Linked DNA regions of Homo sapiens: all the other regions are linked to region 3. The links are contacts of gene promoters, found by promoter capture Hi-C in blood cells and fetal thymus (Javierre and others, 2016). All regions are on one chromosome and are shown on one strand. Each heading gives the region's core, a stretch centred on a gene start or on the middle of the fragment in contact. The rest is flanking DNA. Distances are from core to core; before and after follow the strand shown.

The links. Contacts are between HindIII fragments. The CHiCAGO score rates a contact against its expected background, and 5 or more counts as called.
Region 1: a fragment that was not itself captured here is called in contact with the fragment with the promoter of LINC01412 in region 3 in 1 of 17 cell types (monocytes); the score reaches 6.8 in monocytes.
Region 2: a fragment that was not itself captured here is called in contact with the fragment with the promoter of LINC01412 in region 3 in 1 of 17 cell types (non-activated CD4 T cells); the score reaches 5.2 in non-activated CD4 T cells.
Region 4: a fragment that was not itself captured here is called in contact with the fragment with the promoter of LINC01412 in region 3 in 1 of 17 cell types (neutrophils); the score reaches 5.0 in neutrophils.
Region 5: a contact is called between a fragment that was not itself captured here and the fragment with the promoter of LINC01412 in region 3, in 1 of 17 cell types (neutrophils). The highest score is 6.1, in neutrophils.

The regions. Positions count from the first base shown.
Region 1 is chr2:144,821,893-144,824,592 of GRCh38, reverse strand. The region is part of intron 2 of TEX41 (testis expressed 41); the gene reads right to left. Among named protein-coding and RNA genes, the nearest start is that of LINC01966, 59 kb to the left of the region's middle. The HindIII fragment of the contact is 5,411 bases long and covers 1-2,700 here.
Region 2 is chr2:144,200,280-144,202,979 of GRCh38, reverse strand. The region is part of intron 4 of QTMAN (queuosine-tRNA mannosyltransferase); the gene reads left to right. Among named protein-coding and RNA genes, the nearest start is that of QTMAN, 130 kb to the left of the region's middle. The HindIII fragment of the contact is 167 bases long and covers 1,247-1,413 here.
Region 3 is chr2:144,520,614-144,523,313 of GRCh38, reverse strand. LINC01412 (long intergenic non-protein coding RNA 1412) reads right to left here and starts at 1,446. Exons shown (of 3, transcript NR_110570.1): 1 at 1,388-1,446. ZEB2-AS1 (ZEB2 antisense RNA 1) reads right to left here. Exons shown (of 4, transcript NR_040248.2): 4 at 2,415-2,560. The HindIII fragment of the contact is 4,746 bases long and covers 1-1,605 here.
Region 4 is chr2:144,776,646-144,779,345 of GRCh38, reverse strand. All of the region lies in intron 2 of TEX41 (testis expressed 41), which reads right to left. Among named protein-coding and RNA genes, the nearest start is that of LINC01966, 100 kb to the left of the region's middle. The HindIII fragment of the contact is 7,010 bases long and covers 1-2,700 here.
Region 5 is chr2:144,853,052-144,855,751 of GRCh38, reverse strand. The region is part of intron 2 of TEX41 (testis expressed 41); the gene reads right to left. Among named protein-coding and RNA genes, the nearest start is that of LINC01966, 28 kb to the left of the region's middle. The HindIII fragment of the contact is 8,335 bases long and covers 1-2,700 here.

The DNA.
Region 1 (2,700 bases), core at 40-2,539, 300 kb before region 3:
TCCAGTTTCTGCACATCCTCACCAACCAATGCCATTATCTGACTTTTTTATTATAGCCATCCTACTGGGTGTGAAGTGGTATTTCATTGTGGTTTTGATTTTCACTTCCCTGATGACAAATGATGTCAAGAAAGTTTCATGTGCTTATTGGCCATTTGTATATCTTCTTTGGAGAAATATCTGTTAAGCCTCTTTAACCATTTGTCAATTGGGTCTTTTTATTATTGAGTTGTAACGATTCTTTATATATTCTGGATATGAGTCCCTTAACAAATATATGATTTACAAATATTTTTTCCTATTCTGGGCTTTGTCTTTTCACTTTCTTGAATGTGAATTTTTATGAAGTCTAATTTATCAATTATTTTTGCCTTTGCTTATGCTTTTGGTGTCATATCTAAAAATTCATTGCTAAATCTAAGTCATGGCCATTTACCTCTATGCTTTCTTCTAAGAGTTTTATGGTTTTAGCAGTTAGATGTTTGACTAATTTTGAGTTAATTTTTGAATAAAGTATGAAGTAAAAGTGTAATTTTATTGTATTGCCTATGGCTATCCAGTTGTTCCACCACTATTTGTTAAACAAAGTATTCTTTTCCCATTGGATAGCCTCAATACCCTTGCCAAAAGTCAGTAAACCATAGAAGCCATGTGTTTATTTCTGGACTCTTTATCCTGCCCCATAGATGTATATGTCTATCTTGATGCTAGTATCACACTTTCTTGATTACTTTTGTTTTATATTCTGTTTCAAAATTGGGAAGTGTGAGTCCTCCAACTTTGTTCTCCTTTTTAAAGATTGTTTTATATTGGTGTTTCAAAATTCAATACAGATTTTAGGATCAGACTTTTAATTTCTACAAAGAAGCCAGCTGCTATTCTGACAAGGATTGCATTGAATCTGTAGAGCGATTAGGAGATTACAGGTATCTTAACAATATTAAGTCTACCGATGCAAAACATGAGTATTCTTCAATTTACTTGTATGTTCTTTAATTTCTTTAAGTAACGTATTTTAGGTTTAAGAGTGTAAGTTTTCTACTTTGTTGTGTTTATTCGTAAATACTTCATTCTTTTTGATGCTATTGTAAATAAAATTTTTTAAAATTTTTATTTTATACTATTTATGGACAGTGTATAGAAATACAATATTTGAGTATTGATTTTGTGTTTTCACAACTTTGTTGAATGCATTTCTTCATTCTAATAGTTTTTTAGTCAACTCTTTAAGATTTTCTACATATAAGATCATGTATTCTGTGAATACAGTTTTACCTCTTCCTTTCCAATTTGGATACCTTTTATTTGTTGACTAATTGCCCTAGCTAAAACCTGTTAAATAAAAATAGTGAGAGTGGGTATCTTTGTGTTGTTCCTGATTTTAGAGGGAAAGTATTGTCTTTCTCCATAAAGTATGATGTCAGCTGTGAATTTTTTACAGATGCCCTTCATCAGATTAAGGAAGTTTCATTCTATTTCTAGTAGGTTGAGTGTGTTTACCATGAAATGGTGTTGAATTTGTCAAATGCTTTTCCTGCATCTATTGAGATCTTCATGTGGGGCTTTTTGGTTTTTTATTAAATTGATATGATATAATACATTAATTGATTTTCAGATGTTAAACCAACATTGTTCCTACAATGTCTCACTTGTTTACGTTATAATTCTTTTATACACTGCTGGATTCAGTTTGCTAGTTTTTTGTTGAAGATTTTTGTATTGATGTTCATAAGAGATATTGGTCTGTAGTTTTCTTGTTATGGCTTTGTTTAGTTTTGTTAGCAGGGTAATATTGGCCTCATGGAATGAGCTGAAAATTGTTCCCACTTTTTTATGTTTTTAATGAATTTGTGAAGATTTGGTATTCTTATGTAAATATTCAATCTCTCTTCCTGCTAATGGGTCTATTCAGATTATCTATTTCTTTTTTAGTTGCTTTGGTAGTTTGGGTTTTCCTTGGAATTTGTCCATTTCATCAAAGTTGTATAATTTGTTGGCATTCAATTGTTCATAGTATTCCTTTATAATCCTTTTTATTTCTCTAAGGTCAGTAGTAATGTGCCCTCTTCCATTTGTGATTCATGTAATTTTGCTCTTTTTTTCCTCTTGATCTAGCAAAGGTTTGCCAATTTTTTAGTCTTTTCCAATAACCAGGTTTTCATTTTACTGATTTTCTCTATTGATAATCTCTTTTCTATTAATTTCCACTTGAGTCTTTATTATCCTTGTGTAGTTGCTCTTCTTTTTCCATTGTCTTATGGTACAAGGTTACATGCTTAATTTGAGAACTTACTTCTATATAAATATAGGTACTTACAAGCTATAAAGTTCCCTCTAAGGACTGCATTACCTGCAATCCATAAGTTTTGGTATTTTGTGTCTAACAGTCATTCATCTTAAAATATTTTCTAATTTTCCTTTTTATTTCTTTTTTTACCCTGTGATTACTTAGGAGTGTGAGTGTTTAATTTTTACATATTTTTAAGTTTCCCAAATACTGTTTCTTTTTGTATTAATTTTTATGGATACACAATAGTTGTACATATGTATGGGATACATGTGATGTTTTGATATAAGCACATAATGTGTAATGATCAAATCAGGGTAATTGGTATATGACCTCAAACATTTATCATTTCTTTGTGTTAGGAATATTCAAATTTCATGCCTCTGGTTATTCTGAAATATACAATATTCATT
Region 2 (2,700 bases), core at 81-2,580, 320 kb after region 3:
TTACCACAGGTTGCCAATTCAAAAGTGTTTGTGTAGTTAGTAGCATGCACTGTGAAACCACTGTTTCCCAGGAGTTAAGCGCTTCAGTGCAACTTCAAGTAGACACTTTTAATATCCTTTCTAGCTTATTTTAAAAAATAAAATATTACACGTAAGGTTCTATATGGCTCCCTGGATACAAGACATTATTCCTAACAGACTCTGCTTTAAAGACCTCTAGGATAAATCTCCTGTATATTTGCCCTTTAAAGTTCGACAACTGTGTTTTAAAAGACAAGCTGGATGTTTATTATACTTTTACAGAGGGAAGACAATCATTATTTTTAATGAATGGAATGGAAAATAAACGGGGAAAAAAACTCATCCCCAAATGGATGCAAAATATGCTATATAAAAGACCTCTGACTATAGAATAAGGAGCATCATAGTTTTGCTTTTGTAATTAATGTGCTTGTTTTTAACATAATGATTGAGACTATTAGTCTGATTTTAGAGCACTTCTTACCTAGTTGCTTTTAAGTGTTTAGTGTCTTCATGGTTAGTTCTCCATATGACAGGAAAAAAATTAGAAAAATAAAAGATGTATTTAATTCTACTTTCATCTCCAACATTTATTTGTTTATAGGAGAAAGATTTTCTGCTTTTATTAAGGTCTTAGTCAATATGTTTACTTTTGCTACTGTCTCTGATTTCCTGTACATGGGGCCTCTAGAGCTACGATGCAGATACTCTGTTGCCCTTTCCTTTCCTTATCCTTTCTTTAGGCAGCTTTCATGCTTTCTTGTTTTCTTGGGGTCACATTTGGCCAACTACCCTCTTTGGGGCACATTGTCCTTTCCATTAATGACTAATTCTTGTTCATCTTTCCTTTATTTATACTATTCTGTTGTTCAGGCCCTGGTGTTTGTTCACATCATGGACCTGCTGGTCTTCTGAGCTGCCATCCCACAAAGATGACTGCAAGGGGAGAGTAGGAGCTGAGTCACAGATGCTGCTCACAAAAGTGCAGTCATTTCATCCTTATGTCTTTCTAAAGAACTTAATTCTGTATTTCAGTGAATTTTTTCCTAAAGTCTCTGCTATGTTTTCCTTTGTTCACCATCTCATGCTGATAATAAAAATGTAACACTCCCCTTCTTTAGGAGAAATTCCTGGTTGAATATGTGTAGTTGAGAGAGCATTGAGGGGTGGGATGGCTTGGTCAAAATTCCTCCAGACTAGTTATCTTTTGGTTCTTTTCTAAGCTTGTTTTCATTATTCTTTTCCATCATTAGTATTTATTAAGAGCTTTTATGTTAAAAGCCAGTGCCTATGCTAGCACTGGTGATACAAAGCCAAACTTGACAAACATGGACATATGGCGCTAGCACACAGCAAGCACTTAGTGAACCCTTTGTTGATTGAAAGAAAGCTTAGTGCCTATATCCATTTGCTGATACTTGTAACCTTGATTAAATAATCCCTGATTGAAAGCCATCCGTGATTTCCTATTGCCTATGTAAAATCCAGAGTATGCACAGGGTTGCTGTGGTCCACGCAATCTGGGCGCTGTCTGCCTCTGCAACATCATCTCCTCCCCTGTCTTCTCGTTAATGTGCTGTGGCAGCACTGGCCTTGTTTACTCACTTTGAAACATCAAGCTTTTTCCTGCCTCAAGTCCTATTACTGCTTGCTGGTCCCTTTGTTGGCAATACTTACTCATGCCCCCAACCCACACCCCTTGTTCTTCATGGCTTTCTCAAGTCAGCTAAAGTTTCGTCATTTCAGAGAGTCCTTTCCTGAGCACCCGATCTAAAATGAGACCTCTATTTTAGCACTCTTTTTCTGCCTCTGTAATAACATTTTATATAACCTGTAATAATTTTGTTTGCTTGATTTTTTTCTCCCCATTTTATTCTAAGCTTTATGATGACAAGAGTCATATCTATCTTGTTTATCGTTTTATCCCTAATACCTAGTATGCCACCTAGCAGATAATAGCTGCTTAGAAAATGTGGTCGAAGGAATGAGTTATTAGAGTTTGAAAAATATGGTTGCCATTCACTTTGTTAATTTACTTACTTTTTTCCTGCTCTGCGCACTACCGGTATCCTCTGCCTAAAGATATCATCTCTTCTACATAGAAACACAGAAACAAGTCACTTAAGGGCTGGTGTTACTCAGTTTTACTGGATTAAACCAAAGAATTCCATACACATTTTTTTCACTTTCATGGGTTATATTAATCAGACTATGAAAGCTGCCATTTTCTGTTATGTAAATTTTGACAAAAGAAAATATGATTTTCTGGAATTTCCCTTGTATAAAAGTATTTCTAGAAAAAAAGTTTCTTAGTTCAGGAAACATTAGTCTAGAACAAGCTTGTCTAGCCTTTGGCCCAGGACAGCTTTGAATGCGGCCCAACACAAATTCTTACATTTTCTAACTTTCTTAAAACATTATGAGATTTCTTTTTAAGCTCATCAGCTATTGTTATTGTTCGTGTATTTTATGTGTGGCCCAAGACAACTGTTTTTCCAACATGGCTGAGAGAAGCCAAAGATTGGACACCACTGGTCTAGAACATGCCTGTGATATTGTGTAAAATTTCATGTGATTGTATTTTAAGGCTTTTTAGTTTTGACAGTGGCCACCCATGAACAATGACTTTTAAATTTATGGAAGAGACACTATCAGAATAAATGACAGATTAGAATTTGG
Region 3 (2,700 bases), core at 197-2,696:
GGGAATCCTGAGGGAGGTAGTTTGTTTTGCCCATGGAAACCCCAAAGAATTATTTTTCCCCCTTCAATGTTGATTGCAATATTATTTCACATTTCCGTGTATCTGTTGTTTTAATCTCTTTCGTCTGCGCTAATCTCGAAGTGGATTATTAATGGGGAAGACAGAGAAGGAGAGATTCATTTGCAGGACTTATTTTGCTGTGTGAGGAGCCGAAAGCCAGCAGCCCCCAGTCCTCTCTCGACTTTTCTCTGCGTCCTGTGCTCCTGCATCCTCCTGATCCCACGATCCCCATTGTCCCCGAACTGGCCCTCGGACTGAGGGAGTGTTCGGAACAAATTTATATTCCGGCTTCCTCCCGACCCCATCACCTCTGCCACGTTGGGAACTCTCTCGGCCAAATGCCTGGGGAGGGGCGTGCCAGTCAGGAACCAGGGGCAAGGCAACCTAGCCGCAGCGCTCACCCCTCGCGGAGACCCTTCCCGTGCCACCATCCAAATATCTACCTTCATGGGAACCTGGAAGACTGCTTTTTCACCCCAAATCAAATACTGGCTAGTCGGAACTCCCAGTGATAAATGTTGGGGACTGCCTCCTGCCACTTGAGCAATTCCTGAGTCCAGGGTAATCAGATGATTAGGTGTTTTTAATGGAAATACTTAGGGTTTTTTTTTTTTTTTTTAAGTCAGATCCTAAGTAACCTGACATTTAATATACATAATAAAGACAAGTGTTTTGTTAGCTATTCGATTGGATCCTTTGACCTGAGGTTATGCTTGTGTGTGTGTCTGGTCTGTAAGCCTCCAATGGCTACCTGGGTGCCTGAAGAGGAGTCTTGCCTGTAATAACTCTATGCAAAGGGCTCCTTCTTCCTTAGGAGTGGTGGAAGGGTGGCTGTAAAGCAAACGTCTAGAGAAAGCTGGATTCCAATCTTTTAAATTAAAAAAGAGGAAAAAAAGGAAGAGGAAGAAAAATGGACATGAACAGTGGTGCTAAATCTCAGAAGAGGAACTTGATAAGTCACACATATATTTAGTATAGATATATAATAATGAAAGAAATGTAAAATATAAAATTAAGAATGTGCCTGACCCATGTTGAAAATCTTTGATTTTATTTATTAATAATTTTTAAGCTGAAGATCCTGAATGCCTTTCTTCTATAGACACTTTATCTGTGATGGGGTGGGGGGAGAGAGTTAATTTATCCAGCAGCTATTTTCATTATAATAAATACTTAAATTAGGAAAGAGGTGAGTAACCAACTGTGAAAATCTACTTTCTTGCATCCTAGAACAAGATCTAGCTGTGGTCGTGCTAGGTAGCTATTAACCACCCCCACCCCACTCCCCCGCCCCGCAAAAAAAAATACAAAATACAAAGACGTATACCTCTGGGAGTGTGGATGTGGCAACCCATGTGGTGGCTTGTCCCTCCTTTGAGTGCAATTGCCAGTGACTCTTGCATTCAAAGTCTTGCTTTAGGCACACATTCAAAGCACAGTTCAAAGCAGTTTATCTTAATATAGTGTTGGATCAGGGTATTATTTGTTTCAGATTTCATCAGACTGGAAACAGGAGGGTGTAACATATTTAACAATATTAAAGCTTAAAAATTGGTGTGAGGCAGCTCTCTGGTCCTCTTAACACCTCCACCTTTACCTTTCCGAAGAATCCTAAATGCTGTGAGGCTAGAAGTTTATTTGTGCTCTGAGGTTCTCAAGCACTTTCACTCTTTAGGAAAAAAAAAAAAGTCTCACAGTTATTTAAGAAATTGAGCCTGAACCATCCGAGGATAGGAGATTTCTTCCTTTTCCGATAAATGCCTGTGCTCAGCATCCTCAAATTTGGCTGTCTTTATTTACTTCTATATTAGTTCCAATTATGTGCAGTGTAAACCAGCTTTTTGATTAACAAAACAGCAGAGCATTGGTTAAGAACACTTAAACTTCAAAAAAATTCCCCTGGGAAGTGGGCTCTGAATTGGTTAATAATGTGCAGTACTTGCTAAATTGCTGACTTCCAGATGTGGAAAATATCTTTCTTGTTTAGGACCTATGTAACCTGATTGGATTACGACAGAAGCGTCACGTTGGAAGCTTTTGAGTGATTATTTAATTAACCATACAGTAGAAAGCTGTATTCTCCAGGAAATCCCTTCCATATTTGCATAACCAATCCCTTCAGAGCAAAGGTGGAGTCTTTTCTTTTTAATCTTACTTTAATTGTAATATCAAAAAATATATACTCCAAAACTTAGACCCCATGCCGTTTAATATCATGCTCTCCCTTCCCTGCTAAGTTTCTCTATGGCCTTTCTCGTTTCTCCTCCTGCCTCCCTACACACTCTCCCTTACTTTGTAGTGAGGTCTCCCCGAGGTGTAGAGAGATTCAGAGATCGGCCAACCGAGTGTTCTATTTTAATTTACTTAGAGACCCTTTATTAAAATGCCAAACTACTTTTTAATATTGGGATCCAGTCCAGAAATTCATCATGCACACACCCTAATACACATGCCCTAAGATGCAGCTCCCATGCAGCATTTTTTTTTCTGGCTCTGGTACCTAAAAAGAAAAAAATAACAATAAGAGAAAGGGCAGAGAACTTTGTTCCAGAAGCTGTACTGAGATACCTACACAATTTGATGTGCATCTCAAATCTGGTCATTAGAGATATCTGTATAAGAAGAGACTATCTGGATTGA
Region 4 (2,700 bases), core at 60-2,559, 260 kb before region 3:
AGAACACAACATTTTCTTTTCCTCTTAGATGTTTCTGATGAGAAATAAGCACTGTTTTTTGGACAAAGTTTTTGTGGCCTCTAATCACAGTATTGAAATGTACTTTAATTATTTACCCTTTAAAATTAGAATGATTAAACAAAATAGATACTTCTATATAATTTGTGTATCTGTTTGTTTGCCTTATGTTTAAAAATTGGCCAGAATTTGAAACTCATATAATCATCTTTAGACTCTTCTATCTGCCCCAGATGTGGTTTTCAACTTTTGCTTCCTAAGCACAAATACATTAAAAGGACTTTTTCGACCTTGAACTTGACTGCTCAGAGTTTATGCCCGCTATAAATGGAACACCAAGGGTGGCCAAAGGTGGCAGAGTAGCCTGCCTAACAAACAATATTGATCCAAAACAAAATATTAAGTTAATGTTCTCAGGTCAGTTACTTTTCCATAGAATATGCAAAGATAGTAATGGGCATCTATTAAATATATCCATGAATATTATCAGATTATTCTGTTTTTTTCTCAAGTCTACTGCCCACCCTCCCAATCCCATATGTCTGCCATTCTCCTCTTATCTGCTCTTATTTTAACATCTTCACTGGCCCCTTCACCAATGCACCATCCAATCAATCTACAAACATCTTCAAGTTCACATTATCTTAAAAATGTAAAAACTCTTTACTCTGCTCTTTTTATTAAATTTTTATTCTGTTTCTTGAAAGGACAAACTGTGTTCTCAAAGCAGACACCATATTATATTGAAATGATCTATGTGTGTGTTTTGTCCCTCCCAAATTTCATACTCCTTGAGAGCAAGGACTCAGCTCTATTGGTTTTTGGACTTCCAGTAGCTGGAAAATTTCCTCATTACACATCAGATGCCCAATAAACAGTATGTGAACTAAATTGAATCCATCACCCATTTATCTCTTATTATTGTGAAATATGGCTTCTGCTCTCACAACTCTCCTGAGGTAAACCAGTCAAACAACCCTTTCTCTTCTCTTAGATGCTTCAACCTGTTGGCAGCATTTAACAGTGCAAAAGCATAGGCTTTGGAATCAAATAAACTTGAGCATAAATCACAGTTCAGCTACTTGCTATTTGGTGGCTTTGGACATGTAACCTAACCCCTCTGAACATCAATTTCTTCCTTTGTAAAATTAGGGTAAGAATATATCTCTAATAGGATGCATGGAAAGATTAAATAACATTGCATACATCTGGATCTGGATATAGAGTTGATACTCAATGTGTGTTAGTTCTTTGCTCCTTCCTCTTCTACTCTTCCTTTTCTACAACACTGCAGTCTATGTTCCTCCTTCCTAATTGTTATACTCTCTATATATAACTTCTCAAACTCCTCCAGTACTGTTCTAATAGAGATTCCAAGGATCTGTCATTCCTCGTTCTTTCATTATTTACATTCTTTCCCTCAATAATCTCATCTGATCTTTGAATTTAACTATTGCTTTTAGCCCCTACTTAGTTGACTCCAAATCTCTCTCCAGCCTCTCCTGTGATCCCCCACAATGGGCTAGTCATCTGCTGAATGCTCCTAAGTTCAAGTAGTACATTGCCCACTCTACTGTCTCCACTCTCCCAATATGCTTGTCCCAACCCTGGCAAAACAACCCTAGCATCCCAACTCCCCTGATCAAATGCTTTCAGTAGCTCTAATGGCCTACAATGAAGTCTGAAAACTTGAGTTTGGCGTTCAAAAGTCTCCATAGCCTGGTCTTTATTTCTACTTCAGCCATATTTTCCATGACTCTCATAGATTCACCTTATGCTTCAACCAAATTTTCAGCACTTCATTAATGATTCCTAATATTATTATCCCTGGGTCATTACCCCAAGGCTTCTCGAATGTCCATCTCCCAGTTCCCACCTTTTTCAATCCTAGATAACCCCTAGGCCCGACAACAATGTCCCCTCTCCATGAAGACTTTCTTGGATTCCACAGCTAAGAGCTATCTTTCCTTCTTCTAAGTATCAAGACAATTGAGCAATCTCTCTCTTGAATACTCATTGTCTGCAAAATAATAGTTATTCATGTCTATTTTATTTATTTTATAGCCTGCTAACCTGCACGTCCTTCCCCCATCCCCAGTGCATTTTACCCCCTCCCTATTTCCACTTCCCTCCATAACCTGGAGAAGAACTTAAAGGGGCTTTAAAAATCCAGACAAACAGATATATTAAATAAGCAATCTTAAATGTATATGCATAATCAGTTTAATAAACCTTCCAGGGAATAGCTGAATGCATCCAGAAAAGAAAGTTGTTCCTATGCAGCCAGGGCTATGAGAGATACAATTCCAGGATCTCATCTGTGTTCTGAGTGGTAAAGATTGCTGGAAATCTGACCACCAGATAACTGGAGAGTTACTGTATAGCTAAGGCTTCTTGCCAAAGATTTATAATTAGCAACAGAATCAGCTGGCATTACTAAACTATTTTTTGTTTCTTTAATCTCCTTTTCCTCCTTTTTGTTTTCTTCTTCCCTGTTTGTGACTGATAGAGCCAGATGATCAATAATCTTTCTTTCACCAACTCTGATCATCATCTTTGCTACTGTCTGGATGCTATTATTCAGTTTAATACATTAATCCTTTGGTTGAAATTCTTAAACCACAATTCTTTATTAAAGGACCATCTTGGCACCCATGTACTGATAGCAGCTTGTCTGGTGTC
Region 5 (2,700 bases), core at 175-2,674, 330 kb before region 3:
AAAAAATAAAAAAGTAGGGAGGATTTGGTCAGTAGTCCACCAATTTTTGTAATACTATCAAATCACAGCAGAAAAAAAAAACTTATGATTTAAACAATTAGGTTGCTGTCAGCATAAAAGTAGTTTTAAATAGATATTTAAAATATACTATATACACACTATGGTGTTTAAACTGGAATGATATATTTTTTAATGTAGCAATGACATTTGAGCCACCTAACTACAGAAGAGAAAAAAAAAAGCAAACTACTCTTCTTTAAAGGAAAGTAGTTTGTGTGCGCACACAGGTATTGAATATGTTAACTTAAGGGCAAATACTAATGGTTCACTCAGCTGGAGGTCAAAGGACCTCAATCCACAAGGACATGTTTGTTCTTAAGAAGTAAATGAAGCTAGACCCTGACCTTAACAATGACCATGGGCCACCATTATACACTTTTTAAAAATAGCATTAAACAAACCTCTTGGGTCTGCCTTTAGAACTTACTTACTTTTCCACAATCCTAGAACGGCATTTCTCAACCTGGACAATACTGTCATTTTGACCCAGATAATCTTTGTTGTGGAGGTCTATCTTGTGCATTATAAGAGGTTTAGCAACATTCCTGACCTCCACCCACTAGATGCCAGTAATGTCCTCCCCGCTGTTAAATAGTGACAATTAAAAATGTCTCCATACTTACGAAGTGTGCCCTGAGGGGCAAAATTGCTCCTGTTAACTGTTGTTCTAGATGCAGAGCACTAACCTTTGTTAAAGGCTGGCTTACAGAAGAAAGCAAGAAACAATAGCTGACAGCTTCAGAAAAGACGAAGAAATGAAACAAAATAGTGATAACAATCAGTTGCATAGCATTCTAGGGTCATTTAGTGTAGGAGCTTCAATCACTAGCCTAAGTGTGAACACCACTACAATAAATATGAGTGACAAATATTTTGTTCTGCATTAAATAGAGATGCCTTTAGTGAGGGTATCACGAAGTTTTTGCCAAACAAGATAGCTGATGTTGACTATGATGATCCCGAGTCACCAGGAAATCGTTAGAAGAGTTTCTTCAGTGTAGCACATCAAAGAAGACAGAAAAGAAATAACATTTGAGGATTATTTCCATCAGAAGATCAAATTTTCCAAATTCAAGACAACTAATGTTTGTCTGAAAAAATGCCTCTGTGCTGACATACATGTTAGATTTTCCAAGACAAGGTTGAGTAGGAATATTTTATTTCACTGGTGGCTGTTTCATTTATAGTTTAGAAAAGAAACCAATAAAGGGAATGCCTTATCCCTGGTAAAATCCTATATATTACGATGTGTGCCTAATTTGTGTCACAGATCTTACATAAGATGAATTCTGCTAGTTCCTGCCTGTTAAGGGATATCCATGAGGATACCAGAGAGTGATGTGTGTCTGGGTAAGAAGAGGTTTCAGGGTCATATTCCAGAGCCCAGGTCAAATAAATTACTTGTGGAAAGAACCTACAAAGCCAAGCTAGGGTGAAAAGTAGAAGAGGGAAACAGAAAGGACCAAAGGTCCCAAACTAAACAATAGAAAGCAAAATAATCAAGAGTCAGAACAGGGGAGGCCGGAGTCCAGATGGGTCAAAGTCTTATTTTTAAGAAATTTTGGAAATTCGACTTACAATAATTAAATAAATGAGCCAGACCAATTCCAAAGTCTTAATGGCAGTCAAAAACAGGATTTCAGGAGTAAAAAAAAGAAGCAGGACAGGCCTCAACATTTTCATCATGACCTTCAACAGGCCTCACTCCTCTCTGGGGCCATGGGGAAAAAGTTCACATAAGGACATTCTAGAGGGAGCAACAAAAGGGATTGGAAGGAAGTCAATCATTATGTTCTCTATTCACTTGTATTTTAGATATTAAATCAACCTGCAAACATAGAGATAGACTTCAATTTGGATGCCAGAGATATGTGTTTATCTGAGCTCAATCACTATGTAATTTTTGATAAGTTAGTTAACTTCTCTGATTCTTAGTTATTATATATGAAATAAGCACACATACTAAGTAAAACCCTGGTAAAATGAAAAATCATATTTGATTACGTTTGTAGGTGACTAGCTATCAGTCTTCACCCAGTTCCCATCCTCAAATGAAGGCTGGCCAAACAGGATTGGGGTTGCATAAGTGATTGCTTGTCGTCATGTGGGACTCTTTCAGGTCAGTATATGGTCACTTGTTCTAATATAAATCTCAACATCTCAAGTTTTGTGCTTTTTGTGATAGAATAGGCCAAGTAAAAAACATTATTTTCATTGATTTTGCAATAATACAACCCTGCATTTTCTGTGATTAATTTTTCTAGACACACTTTTGGTATTTTAGAGGTGTTTTACAGTACCTACCTCATAGAGCAGTGGTCCCCAACCATTTTGGCACCAGGGACAGTTTCGTAGAAGATGATTTTTCCATGGACCAGGGAGGATGATTTCAGGATGACACTGTTCCACCTCAGAAGATCATCAGACATTAGATTCTCATAAGGAATGTGTACCCTAGATTCCTCACATGTGCAGTTCACAATAGGGTTTGCACTTCTATGAGAATCTAATGCAGCCGCGGTCTGACATGAGGTGGAGCTCAGGCGGTAATGCCTACCCACCTCTGGTCACCTCCTGCTGTGCAGCCTGCTTCCTACCAGGCCACAGACTGGTACTAGCCCATGGCCTGGGGTTTGGGGA